Linked DNA regions of Homo sapiens: regions 1, 2 and 4 are each linked to region 3. The links are contacts of gene promoters, found by promoter capture Hi-C in human tissues and cell types (Jung and others, 2019). All regions are on one chromosome and are shown on one strand. The core of a region is centred on a gene start or on the middle of the fragment in contact, and the rest is flanking DNA. Distances in the headings are between cores, read along the strand shown. Region 1 overlaps ASMER1 (adipocyte associated metabolic related lncRNA 1). Region 2 overlaps ASMER1 (adipocyte associated metabolic related lncRNA 1). Region 3 holds the start of USP25 (ubiquitin specific peptidase 25). Region 4 has its middle 150 kb from the start of ASMER1.

What was found. Contacts are between HindIII fragments. The study calls those that stand out against the background at their distance.
Region 1: a fragment that was not itself captured here is called in contact with the fragment with the promoter of USP25 in region 3 in 1 of the 25 tissues and cell types used here (dorsolateral prefrontal cortex).
Region 2: a fragment that was not itself captured here is called in contact with the fragment with the promoter of USP25 in region 3 in 1 of the 25 tissues and cell types used here (mesenchymal stem cells).
Region 4: a contact is called between a fragment that was not itself captured here and the fragment with the promoter of USP25 in region 3, in 1 of the 25 tissues and cell types used here (lymphoblastoid cells).

The regions. Positions count from the first base shown.
Region 1 is chr21:14,819,704-14,822,403 of GRCh38, forward strand. It overlaps ASMER1 (adipocyte associated metabolic related lncRNA 1), which reads right to left. Exons shown (of 4, transcript NR_146322.1): 4 at 1-2,700. Among named protein-coding and RNA genes, the nearest start is that of ASMER1, 98 kb to the right of the region's middle. The HindIII fragment of the contact is 3,318 bases long and covers 1-2,700 here.
Region 2 is chr21:14,886,913-14,890,010 of GRCh38, forward strand. The region is part of intron 1 of ASMER1 (adipocyte associated metabolic related lncRNA 1); the gene reads right to left. Among named protein-coding and RNA genes, the nearest start is that of ASMER1, 30 kb to the right of the region's middle. The HindIII fragment of the contact is 3,238 bases long and covers 1-2,980 here.
Region 3 is chr21:15,728,650-15,731,349 of GRCh38, forward strand. It overlaps USP25 (ubiquitin specific peptidase 25), which reads left to right and starts at 1,333. Exons shown (of 26, transcript NM_001283041.3): 1 at 1,333-1,789. The coding sequence starts at 1,745. RefSeq lists a silencer at 938-1,897. The HindIII fragment of the contact is 10,815 bases long and covers 1-2,700 here.
Region 4 is chr21:14,771,685-14,774,384 of GRCh38, forward strand. It overlaps the pseudogene GAPDHP16. Among named protein-coding and RNA genes, the nearest start is that of ASMER1, 150 kb to the right of the region's middle. RefSeq lists an enhancer at 778-947. The HindIII fragment of the contact is 4,738 bases long and covers 1-2,700 here.

The DNA of each region.
Region 1 (2,700 bases), core at 101-2,600, 910 kb before region 3:
ATAAACAACTGCTTTTCTTTTTTCTTTTGTTTTCCTTTTTTTCTTTTTTTTTACTTTTTTTTGAGACAGAGTCTCTCTCTGTCGCCCAGGCTGGAGTGCAGTGGCGCGATCTCGGCTCACTGCAACCTCCGCCTCCTGGGTTCAAGCGATTCTTCTGCCTCAGCCTCCCAAGTAGCTGGGATTATAGGCCTGTGCCGCCGCGCCCGGCCTGCTGCTTGTTTTTCTATGTTCCTGATGGGATGAGACCTATTTCAGTGAAGCGTTCTTTTTAAAGTAGCAATTGAAAGTCCCCAACATGATGAGTCCACCGGGGTGAATAGTCTTCAACTGAAAGCCAGAGATAAAAAAAGAAATTTCTAAATATTAAAAATGCCATGATGATAACTTTGAAACTTAATTGCAAAAGATGGCGATAGCAATGTCTAAAATGGCAATTGTCTGAAATGAGTGCCAATTAAAGGTCACAGGAACCTACAAAAAGGCTATGAGTGCTCCATTACACATTGCTAATTTGAGTAAATAGGGAAAGCGGCATTTATATGCAAATTGTGCGAAGAGAACATATTGCAAATATATTTCTACAGCTATGTTACCCATTTTCCTACTGCGTGTCTAATGAACAAGGGAGTTCCAGTCTTTATTAATAGCCTGTAGAATTAGCATTTGCTTTACAAAGAAATTGTCAATAAAAGAAAGGGGAGTTCCCAGAAGTTACCCACTCTACGAATCAGCACACTTACTACTAACACATGGATTTCAAAATTGACCAACACAGAATCAGAAACCTGTACCACAGTGTTTTAAACACTTCAGGCATGGAATGTAAAATGAGCACTAGCCGTGTCCTAAGAACAAATGTATTTTGAGCAAGAAAACATTTCAAAACTATCTTTGTTGTGTCCTAATGCTTCAAGCACTTTGGCCAAACAGTCCTACCATGTAAGTATCCCCCCCACTGGGATGCAATGGTTGAGGAAATTTCAAAATAGCTGTATCCTTTTAAGGAAACTATTCCTGTTGTTCGCTAAGGCAAAAGCTTGCGTGTAGATTTGTCTTCAAAGATCTTTGTCAACAGGTGTTAATAAGTTTGTTAATATCACAATTGGCTACTCTTTATGTACATTAAACACTAAGTATTAGAGAATAGAGTGATGATATGTAGAACTTGCTATATAGAATTATTAATTTTCCATTTTTTCTGAGAAGCCTGCTGCCATTAAGGAACATCAGTTGGCAAAAAAAAAAAAAAAAAAAATCACTATCCCCTACAGCACCACTTCTGCGGTAGCTTTCTAGAAACACCAAACGCTACAAGCTTCTTAGGGATGAAAACAGTTTTTTATGCAAACATAGATGAGGGCTTCACTTGGTGCCTTTTCAATTAACAGTTCTCAACAAAACCATTTCTGTACTGATTATTTCTGACTCTCTTCTATTTTGAAATGATTTCTCTGACCAAAATTTATGTTGAAAAAACTCACAAAGATAAAGAAAATGTTACCTGTTTCCATAACACAATTTTTAATAGCATTTTCCTCTAAGATAGGCCAATTGTTTTTTTCTTATAGAATGTATTTCTCATGAAAAACTATTTTAGACATGAGAAGGTATTATTTTTCAAATGAATCATGACAGAATTTTTGTGAAGATGCTACATTACCCATACGAGGAACACTGTTTCACATTTTCCAGGTATTTTGGAATCCTACCTTGAGGAGAAATTCAACAGAAGACACTGTGGTCAGGACCTCTCTAGCTAAATGAAAAATTGACATAATTTTCTTCTACAGACAGCCTTAAAAAAATATTTATTCAATTCTCCAGATAATTTAGATAAAAATGATGTTTGGAGTTTGATTTGACTAAAAATATCACCTTTCCTTCAGCTATTTGACTATATGGACATGACCTCAGATGAACACAGCAGAAATGTGGAGTTTAGGTCAATGAAAAGAAATTAATTTATAAAATCTAGTGTTTCCAATTCTAGTGATGGCTTAGGAAACTTCACTTTCTCTGTTGATAAGAAAAATAATTATTAGTGATAGATTAATAAAATAACTTTAAAACCATGTATTTGACAGTTTAAGTAAAGTTTATGCTGTATAAGTTCAAATTTTACTGCCTTTTTAATAATGTGTAAATCATGTTGACACTTGTAAGAAAAATGTCCATATTATTTTAAGTCCAAATTTTACTGCTTTATCATTTCTATTACGTATTTTGGAAATGGAAATCTTTTGACCTTAAAATAATCAAGTAATAAAATAAAGTAGTAAAAGAAATTGAAAAGCCGTGCATCTGACTCTTTATTTCAAACCATTAAGATGGAAGTAAGAAAAAAATTGATGACTTCTATTCATAACCAATTGAAAAAGGAAGGAAATCTCTCTTTAGCCTGAAAGTGTATATCTAGATGAGAATGACCAAAAATGGATAAGCTCTGGTTGGTCAATATAATGAGTAGTTACTGATGTACTGATATTTTTAATAGCTTAGCCTAGATGGTATTACTTTTGTAAGTTATATGTAAGAAATTATTTGGCTATTCACTAAACTTATTTTCCAAAAAGTGCTTTCTATTTCAGAAGCACTATGTTACAAATACTGTATCATAAAGAAAAATAAGAAAGGATAATGTCCTCTACCTTTGAAATCTCAGTAACATTTTAATGTTAACAATGGTCTGCTTCTTTTTAT
Region 2 (3,098 bases), core at 112-2,611, 840 kb before region 3:
CAGGTCCAACATCCAAATCCAGAGATGATCCAGCATTATGATGCAAAATATACCAATGGCGCTATTCTCACTTAACAGAGACCATTTGGAAAGAAGTAATAAAAGGATATGAACTGAACACAGTTACAGAATCACAGACTCCTAAGGCCAAAACGAACTTCAATATCCTCTAGTTTTTCTTGCCCAAAATATCAATCCAAGAAATTAACTGGTTACTTATTAAAAGTAGACAGCCAGGAAAAAGGAGAACTGAATATTTCAAAACAAATAGTCCAAATGGACAAACAAGCTCTGAACAGAGCCACTTTTAGAAGGAGGAGAGAGAACGTTAAGGCATTTATGAATAAAAGGCAGACTTCTTTAGAAGGAGTCGCCATATTGGCTCACTACAACTCCGCCTCCCGGGTTCAAGTGATTCTCCTGCTGGGATTACAGGCGCCCCCCACCACGCCCGGCTAGTTTTTGTATTTTTAGTAGAGACGGGGTTTCACCATGTTGGTCAGGCTGGTCTCAAACTCCTGACCTCGTGATCCGCCCGCCTCAGCCTCCCAAAGTGCTAGGATTACAGGCGTGAGCACGCGCCTGGCCACAAAATGCAGACTTCTAAAGTAGAAGTCCAGCTTGGCCAGATAATAGACTCACTAGCATATAAACTGCTGGAAGCTAATGTAGGAGGTCAGGAAGGAATGATAAGGTTAGAGGAACCAAAGCCCAGAGAGGGTTTTTGTTTGGTTCTTTGGCAGCACTTAACTCTAGGAAGTGATGGGGAAATTCTAATTTCTGAGAATGTTTTTCAAAAGGATGACAGAGATTAGAGCTTCCAGTGAAGAAAATATTGCTGCAATCAAAGAAAGCAAAGTGCAATAAAGCCCTCAGGCCAGACGGAATTTATCTAAGTATTCTGGAGAAAATAAGGTGTGAAACAGCAGAGACTGATGAGGACATATACTATGACCATTAAAATAACAGCTGTTCCTGAAGACTGTCCAATTTTTAACACAGTATCTATGGTTTTTTTTGTTTTTGTTTTGTTTTGTTTTGTTTAAAGGAAACCAAGAGAAATCCCAAGAATTCAGACAAATGAACTTTGTCTTGGTGCTCGGATACTGGTTGGGGGAAAAAGTCCGATGATTGTGCCAAGTAGAATCTGAGAATTGAAACTTGACAGGCCCCCATCAACTCTGCAGGAATAGAGATTTTTACCTCTCCAAGCTTAAAATTGATAATAAGTAATACAGAGATACACCATGCACTTGCCCTTTTAAAAAGTTTGAAAATGAAGAAACAAATGCTTTCTTGGATCTGAAACTAGCTAGAGAAATTAGAATCATGTATAGTGTATGCTTAGGCCAAAGAGAAGAGATTAGCTATAGCACTCCTGGAATCTGATGTTGGAATGAAATGTAATTTCACCTGCATTTTTTAAATAATTAGGGAGTATGTGTGAGTCACAAGCAATTGACTCTCACATGATTGACACTCTGTGGGAGCAAGCAGTGAAAAAGAAATGGTGAGCACCTGATCCTATGATAATCATCACTAGCATTTATTGAATGGTTACTACGTGGCAGGCACACTGCTTAGTGTTTGACATCCATTATCTCAATTATTCTCAGTCTGTGAGTGATGGTATAAACTACTTCAGAAACATCTGCTGTTTCAGAAAGAAAATGCTCTAAGGTGTAGGGCAGATTATCAGCCAGGGTCACAGTTCAGATGAGTTCCAAAGAAAGCTTATCTAAAATATTCTGATGAAAATGTGGCTTCCATTTAAAACCGAATGGGGGCCAAGAGAATTGTAAAGGAAACTCGAGGATGCAATCTATTCTCTGCCCCTCAATCCCTGAGCCAGCCAGGGATACTTATTTTCTCCTAAACCTAAAAATAGTCACGCTAACATTGGTTTCAGACTCTCAGAATCACCAGCTCTGAGACTACAGAGATCTTCTCACTCTTTCCTATCTCCTGGTCCTTAAACCCGCTTCCTTACCTTGCTTCTGTGCCTTGCTAATTATAACTGCTTTTTGTTTGTTTGTTTCCTGATTCCTGTGGCTCAATCTGTGTTCCTAGGGCCTTCATCTGTGGTACCCACCTGGGATTTTAGACTCATGTGGGGGGTCTAAAGCTTTGGCTTAAGTTTAGTCTGAAACTCTCCTAGGCTTTGGTCCACAACCTCCTGCCACCCAACATGGTGCTGACAGGGAGGACAATCTGTAGCCCATGAAGATTAGAGCTATGCTATTAATCAATGATCTTTCCCAACTAAAATACTTAGTTCAGGGCTCTTCGCACAATGCTCAAAGTACTTTCTGTTCAATAAAGGCTTGTTGACTGTATTTACAACACATGCTGTACTATGAACTGCATACCAAAGTCCAAATTACAACATATAACCTCTATGACAAGAACGAGTAAAAAAATAAAACCACAGCCTTGGAGGGATGCCAGATGATGCTGGACCCATGAAAAACTCCAGAGAGGAAACAAAAGGTACTGAACAGAAATGGAGTGCACACACCGTAACCTTGTTCTCTCATCTTTTGTGAACTATGACGGGTCACCTTTGCAAAATTATAAGCCTTTTGAGAGTAGGGTACAATACAGCTTCAACGGCAGGGTGCCTACAGTCCCCATCACTCCTCCTGCCACCAGGGAACTTGCAGGAAGGGAGCTTTCCTGTTAGCTTTCCTCCCTGGTAAAGCACTGACCACAGCCTTGAATGCCACAAAGCCACATTGGGAAAAATATGAAGTTTTGTCCTACCCACATTATATCTGGACAGATAGTTATTTAGAAAAGAATCATTCTGCATTTTATGTATTATAACATTGGCTATACAGGATCTCTCTCTCTCATCACCCAAGTCTGGTTCCTTCCTAGTCTACATCTGCCTCTTGCTCCTCAAAGAGCTTACTTTTCCTCTCGGTTTCTTTAAGCAATAGCTCTCCTTACTATGTGGTGTGATGGTTAATTTTATGTGTCAGATTGGCTAGCCTGTAGTAACTAGTTATTCAAATATGAATCTAGGTATGGCCATAGAGATATTTTGTAGGTGAGTTTAATATCTATAATCATGGACTAACCTTTTAAAAAATCTA
Region 3 (2,700 bases), core at 83-2,582:
AGGTCACCCTCCTTGGGCTTCAGAGTTATAAAAAAATCGATACGTGAGATTAGAGATGTGACAGTATTTCTAAATTTCTGTTTCCAACCGTTTCATGACTTTTCATTTCCTCTAGAAAAGACATAGGATATTAATATAATAAGATTTGCAATTTGTTAAATATCAAATGAGTCAACAAATATGAAGCTTCAAGGAAAAGGTGACAACAGGTGGTACCAGACATCTGAGCTGCAGAACAAAGATGGTTGTAAAGTGCACAGAACTGTTACAAAGCCTTAAGAGCTACTATAATCCATGATTATTAAATAACACCACATACTATTTCAATTAGCATTTGCCAAGCTTGCTTTCCTTGTCATTGGATTAAAAATTATACCCGGATTTTCAAGTGTATTCTATTTGTGACAATATGCATTGATAATTTCTCTCCTCACACTGCTGCACTCTCACCTCCGTTCCCAGATTAGCTCCTGGAACTCGAGATATTTTTGTGGCTAGAGATTGCTTTCTTAATGTTAGATTTTCCTTACAATTCCATATATAGTCAAGCATTCCATGCATGGTAGTTAATTGTTTGCTTAATTTGGCAACTGGGATATTAGAATTATGTATCATTAGGCAGTGATATTTTTGTAAGGTTGTTTGCTAGATAGATCCTATTTCATTTATATTAAGTCTTGGGAAGATAAACTTTATTTTTCCAGAGCCTAGCAGTGACTGACACATATTCGAATGAATGAAGGTAGATAGAAAATGTCTATATTCATTTACGTAATGATTAGTTAAGGAGAAAAGTACTTCCCAGCATAAAGATTTCTGGCAACCCTTTGCTTATTTGACTTTTCCCTTCAGGCAAGTTCAAGGCTTGTGAAATTCCTAGAAAGGCGAGGGGAGAGAACGCGTGACACAGAAAGGGGCCGGAGTTCGGGACCCTACGCAGTTTTGGGACGTTATGGGCATGGAGGGAAATGTTTGCTTTGGAGGCTTTGGGTAAGCTAGGGATCCGACAAGCCCTGGGCGCAGGGAGGAACGCTGCCCTCCGGCCTCCAGTCGCGCTCCCCGAAGCCCAGCGCCAGCGTCGCGCAACCTGCCGCAGGGGCGGCTCCCGGGCCAGGCAGCCAGGCGCGCCCTCGCCCCACCCGGGAACGCCAGGCCCGCGCAGGGAGGGGCGGGGCTCCATGGCGGCCCCGCCCCGCCGCCCGGAGGGTCACAATGTAGGGTTAGGGCGGCCGGCGGGCGGGGCTCTGCGGGGGAGGAGCCGCCGGGCGGGGGCGGGGATGGCGCGTGGGGGAGGGGAGGGAGGAGGACTCGCGGAGGGAGGAGGACAACGCCATTCCGGGCGGCCGCTCCCTCCGTCCCCTCTCTCCCTTCCCCAAAGCAGCCCGCGGACCGGCAGCAAAGGAACGTGCGAACGCGTGACGCCGCCCGACTGGCTCGCGCTCTCCCGTGCCCCGGCGTCCTCCGCCCGCTCATGGCCCGGGCCGCCGCGGACGAGCGGCGCTGAGGCGGGCCGCGTGGAGACGTGAGGCGGCCGCCGTGGCCCTCACAGTCGGCGTTTCGCCGCCTGCCCGCGGTGCCCGCGCACGCCGGCCGCCATCGCCTTCGCGCCTGGCTGGCGGGGGCGCTGTCCTCCCAGGCCGTCCGCGCCGCTCCCTGGAGCTCGGCGGAGCGCGGCAGCCAGGGCCGGCGGAGGCGCGAGGAGCCGGGCGCCACCGCCGCCGCCGCCGCCGCCGCCGCGGGGGCCATGACCGTGGAGCAGAACGTGCTGCAGCAGAGCGCGGCGCAGAAGGTGAGGCGAGTCCGCCAGCCGGCGGGCCCCACTTCTCCTTCCGACGGGCTGTCCTCTCCCGCTGCGGCCGGGCGCCCCGGCCTCGCCGCCGCCGCCTTCCCGGGCTTCCTCCCCGGTCACCCCCGGCCCCTGCCCATCGCCTCGGGGGCGTCGCGCCCAGAGCCCAGCTGCGTGTGGGAAGCAGAGTGTAGTTTGCGGGCTTCAATCCACTTCCTTCTGCCGATTGTTTTCCCGTAGCAGACGGTGCCAGGTATTGAGAGCGACCCTCACATTCCTACAGTGCTCTGTGTGGCATCTTAATGAAACTTTATTCTCTCCCCTTAAATGAGAAAGAATAGCTAGTTGTCATCCTTTCTGAACCGATTTTGTCTTTCAAAGGTAGTAGTGTACCAGGCCTGCTATTTTGCAAAACGGTCTCCACCAAAATCGAATTACCTGCCTCGCGGGGCAGGCGTGTTGACCAGGTGGACTCTAGAAGTAGGTGGTTTGCTTGGTTTCTTTTCCTTTTAAGGTTTCCCTTTCTTCTTCTTCTTTTCTGTTTTTTTTTTTTTTTTTTTTTTTTTCAATATAGAAACTGTCCCTAAGAGAGGAAACCTTTCTGGCCATGTTATTCCAGGAATCTTTTGTCCCCTAAGTTTGACCTTGTTCTTTCGTTCACCCTTTACTCTTGCATCAGTCACACATTCAAATGGTCACTCACTAAAGAAAACAATTAAAAAACTGTTTGTGAAACTTTATATCTTTAAAGTGAATAGAGATCATTCTGCTATTTTAGATTTTGCTTTCAGAATCTTAAGTGCACTATCATGGCTTGCACCATGTTCTGAAGAGTAGTTGGCCATGATTTAACTTCTTTTTTTAATTTTTAATTTGCGTGAAAAGCATTTTGGGCAAAAGAGTAAACCGTGCCT
Region 4 (2,700 bases), core at 14-2,513, 960 kb before region 3:
TCTAATATTTACATAACCTCTGGAAACTAAAAAGAAGTACCTGTCTCTTTCTTTTGTGCTCCTGCTTCAGAAGGATCTTTCTATGTACAGGAAACTTAGCTCACATGGTGCAGGGAAAAGCCAAAAGATAGCTCCACTGCCACAGCTTGGCAGACTTTAATACGTGACATATTGTCAGACCTCAGCACTTACAGGAAAACGGAGTCTTTCAAATGTGAGTTCAGTCCAGCAGTTTTTCATTTTGCAGACAAAGATTATAGATTTAACTCTTTTTATGTAAGGGAAGTATGAAAGGGACTCATAAGTTTATGAACATGATCCACATAGTAGAGTCCCCAGTTTCTTAGAGAAGTCATGCTGACAAGGAGACCTGGAGCAAAGGGGACACGTGGTATATTAGTTTTTCAGCACGGCTGTAATGAAGTACTGTAGACTGGATGGCTTCGACAACAGAAATTTATTTCTCACAGTTCTAGAGCCTAGAAATTTACGCTCAAACTGTCATCAGGGTTGGCTTCTTCTGAAGGCCCCTCTCCTTGGCTTGTAGACGGCAGTCTTCTGGTGTCTTCACCTGGTCTTCTGGGTATGTCTGTGTCCTAATCTCCTCTTCTTATTAGAACGCCAGTCATATTGGATTAGGGTCCACTTCCAATGACCTCGTTTGACATTTAATTACCTCTTTAAGATTGTTATCTCCACATACAGTCACATTCTGAAGTACTGGGGTAAAGACTTCAACATATGAATTTTGGAGGAACATGATTCAGTCCATAACAGGTGAAGTCCAGTTGTTTCAGGAGTATAACCTCATCTATTCATGACTGCCAGTGACCCTCCCAGACAATGCATCAGAAACTTTCCCACTGCTGTCAAGGAACCCTAGAAGAGGTTTATCTTCCAATTATGACCAAAGAGGATAACAGGTGTTTTTGCAAAACTTAGGTGGTGGGAAGTAATACAGCCAAGATAAAGCAAAGTTTCCTGATAAAAAACCCAGTGGCTTTTCTATTGCATTGTACCATCAGTCTTCATTTACAACAGAAAACTCCTCAAGAAATCATATGCACTCTGTCTTTATCAGAGTTAGGATATTCCATTACATTAGAAAATCATTAACTGTTTATCTCTTTGCATTCTCTCCATGCTTCCTGAAGTATCCATAGAATGCAGATGATAATTGTGGCTTAATATCATGTATTTCTTTCACAGAACATAAAAGTTAATTAAAATAAACCTTGACATTTATTGAGTCACAATGTTACAGATGCTGTGCTGAGTGCTTTCCACACATTATCTCAAGAAACTCACAATAACTGTATGAGCTAAATACTACGGTTACTCCAATGTTACAGAAAAGAGAACTGATGTTTAAAGAGATTCAATACCTTACCAATGCCAAAGAACCAGTATGTAGTGGAGCCAGGTCTACCAAAGACTATGCCAACTGCCCCTCTGATAGTGATTGTCTTCTAAATATAGTAAGCAAAACCTCTGTCATAGAATGAAGAAAAGTGACAACATCATTCATGAGTTCCCGTATATGATGAACAAATATGCTGGCAAAATCCACTACAATTTTTGTATTATTATATAATATAAGGACAGGTCATCACCTTATCATTACAAAGTTTGTTTCTGTATGTGAAATATTTCATGGGCTTCTAAAGGTGTGAAGCCTCTTTCTGTAACATACCAGAGTATAAGATTCTCTGTTTTTAACAAAGCATCACCTTCATATATTAAAATGAAATTAATCGTAGAACGTAATCTTCAGACAAATGACCACGTACTCTGGAATCCAGGTCCAAATCACTAACGTAATGGCTATAGCTGCATACTTCTAAGAAAGTGGAAAAAAGTTATGGGCATTTTCAAGAGAAAAACATTAGTGTCAAGTACCGCTTTAGCGAGGACAAAGAGACATCTCTTATCCTGAAAGCAAACCTAGACCAATTATTTTTCATGAACAAAAATTAAGCCATAACACACTAGTAAACTTCTTGCTAGGAAAAAACAATTAATATTTGAATAACGCTATAAATTCCTACTGATCTATTTCAAGTAAACTATTACCACTTCCTAGTAATATTTTTTTTTATTTATCTAGTAGGCTGTGGAGAGCAGCTTCTGTCTTTTCTCATCAAGCCTTAAGTTGAAACAACGCTGTCTGCAAATTCAGCGCCAAGACTAGGACTCCAGCTTCATTGAAAACCGGGAGGTCTGCTGGAAGCACCTCAACACTTATCCTCATCCTAAACTCTGGAGAGGCACAGCACCCTCTGCTGGTTAAAACCCTGGGGCTACAGCACAAATACCCTTCAAAGAAATGAAATAAAGATTTCATATAACCCTGTGCTGCAAAAACGTTCCACCAGCAGATTGGCACTAAAAGAAATGTTAAAAGAATTTCTTTTGGCACAGAAAAATTATACCAGATAAAAACTTGAATCTACACAAAGGAATGAAGAGCACCGAAAATGGTAAATATATGAATAAATATAGAATGAGATTGTCTTCTTTTTTAAGTTTCTTAAAAGATAATTGGCTCTCTGCTCCTTTCTGTTCCACAAACAGCCATGTGTTCTTGTGAAGTGCCAGGCACATACCTAAGACATAATGGTAAAGGTCCAAGTCACCAGATTTGTCCACATAGAGCACCTGGACTCTAGGGCGGCTTTAAAACTTCAACAAAGAGTCATC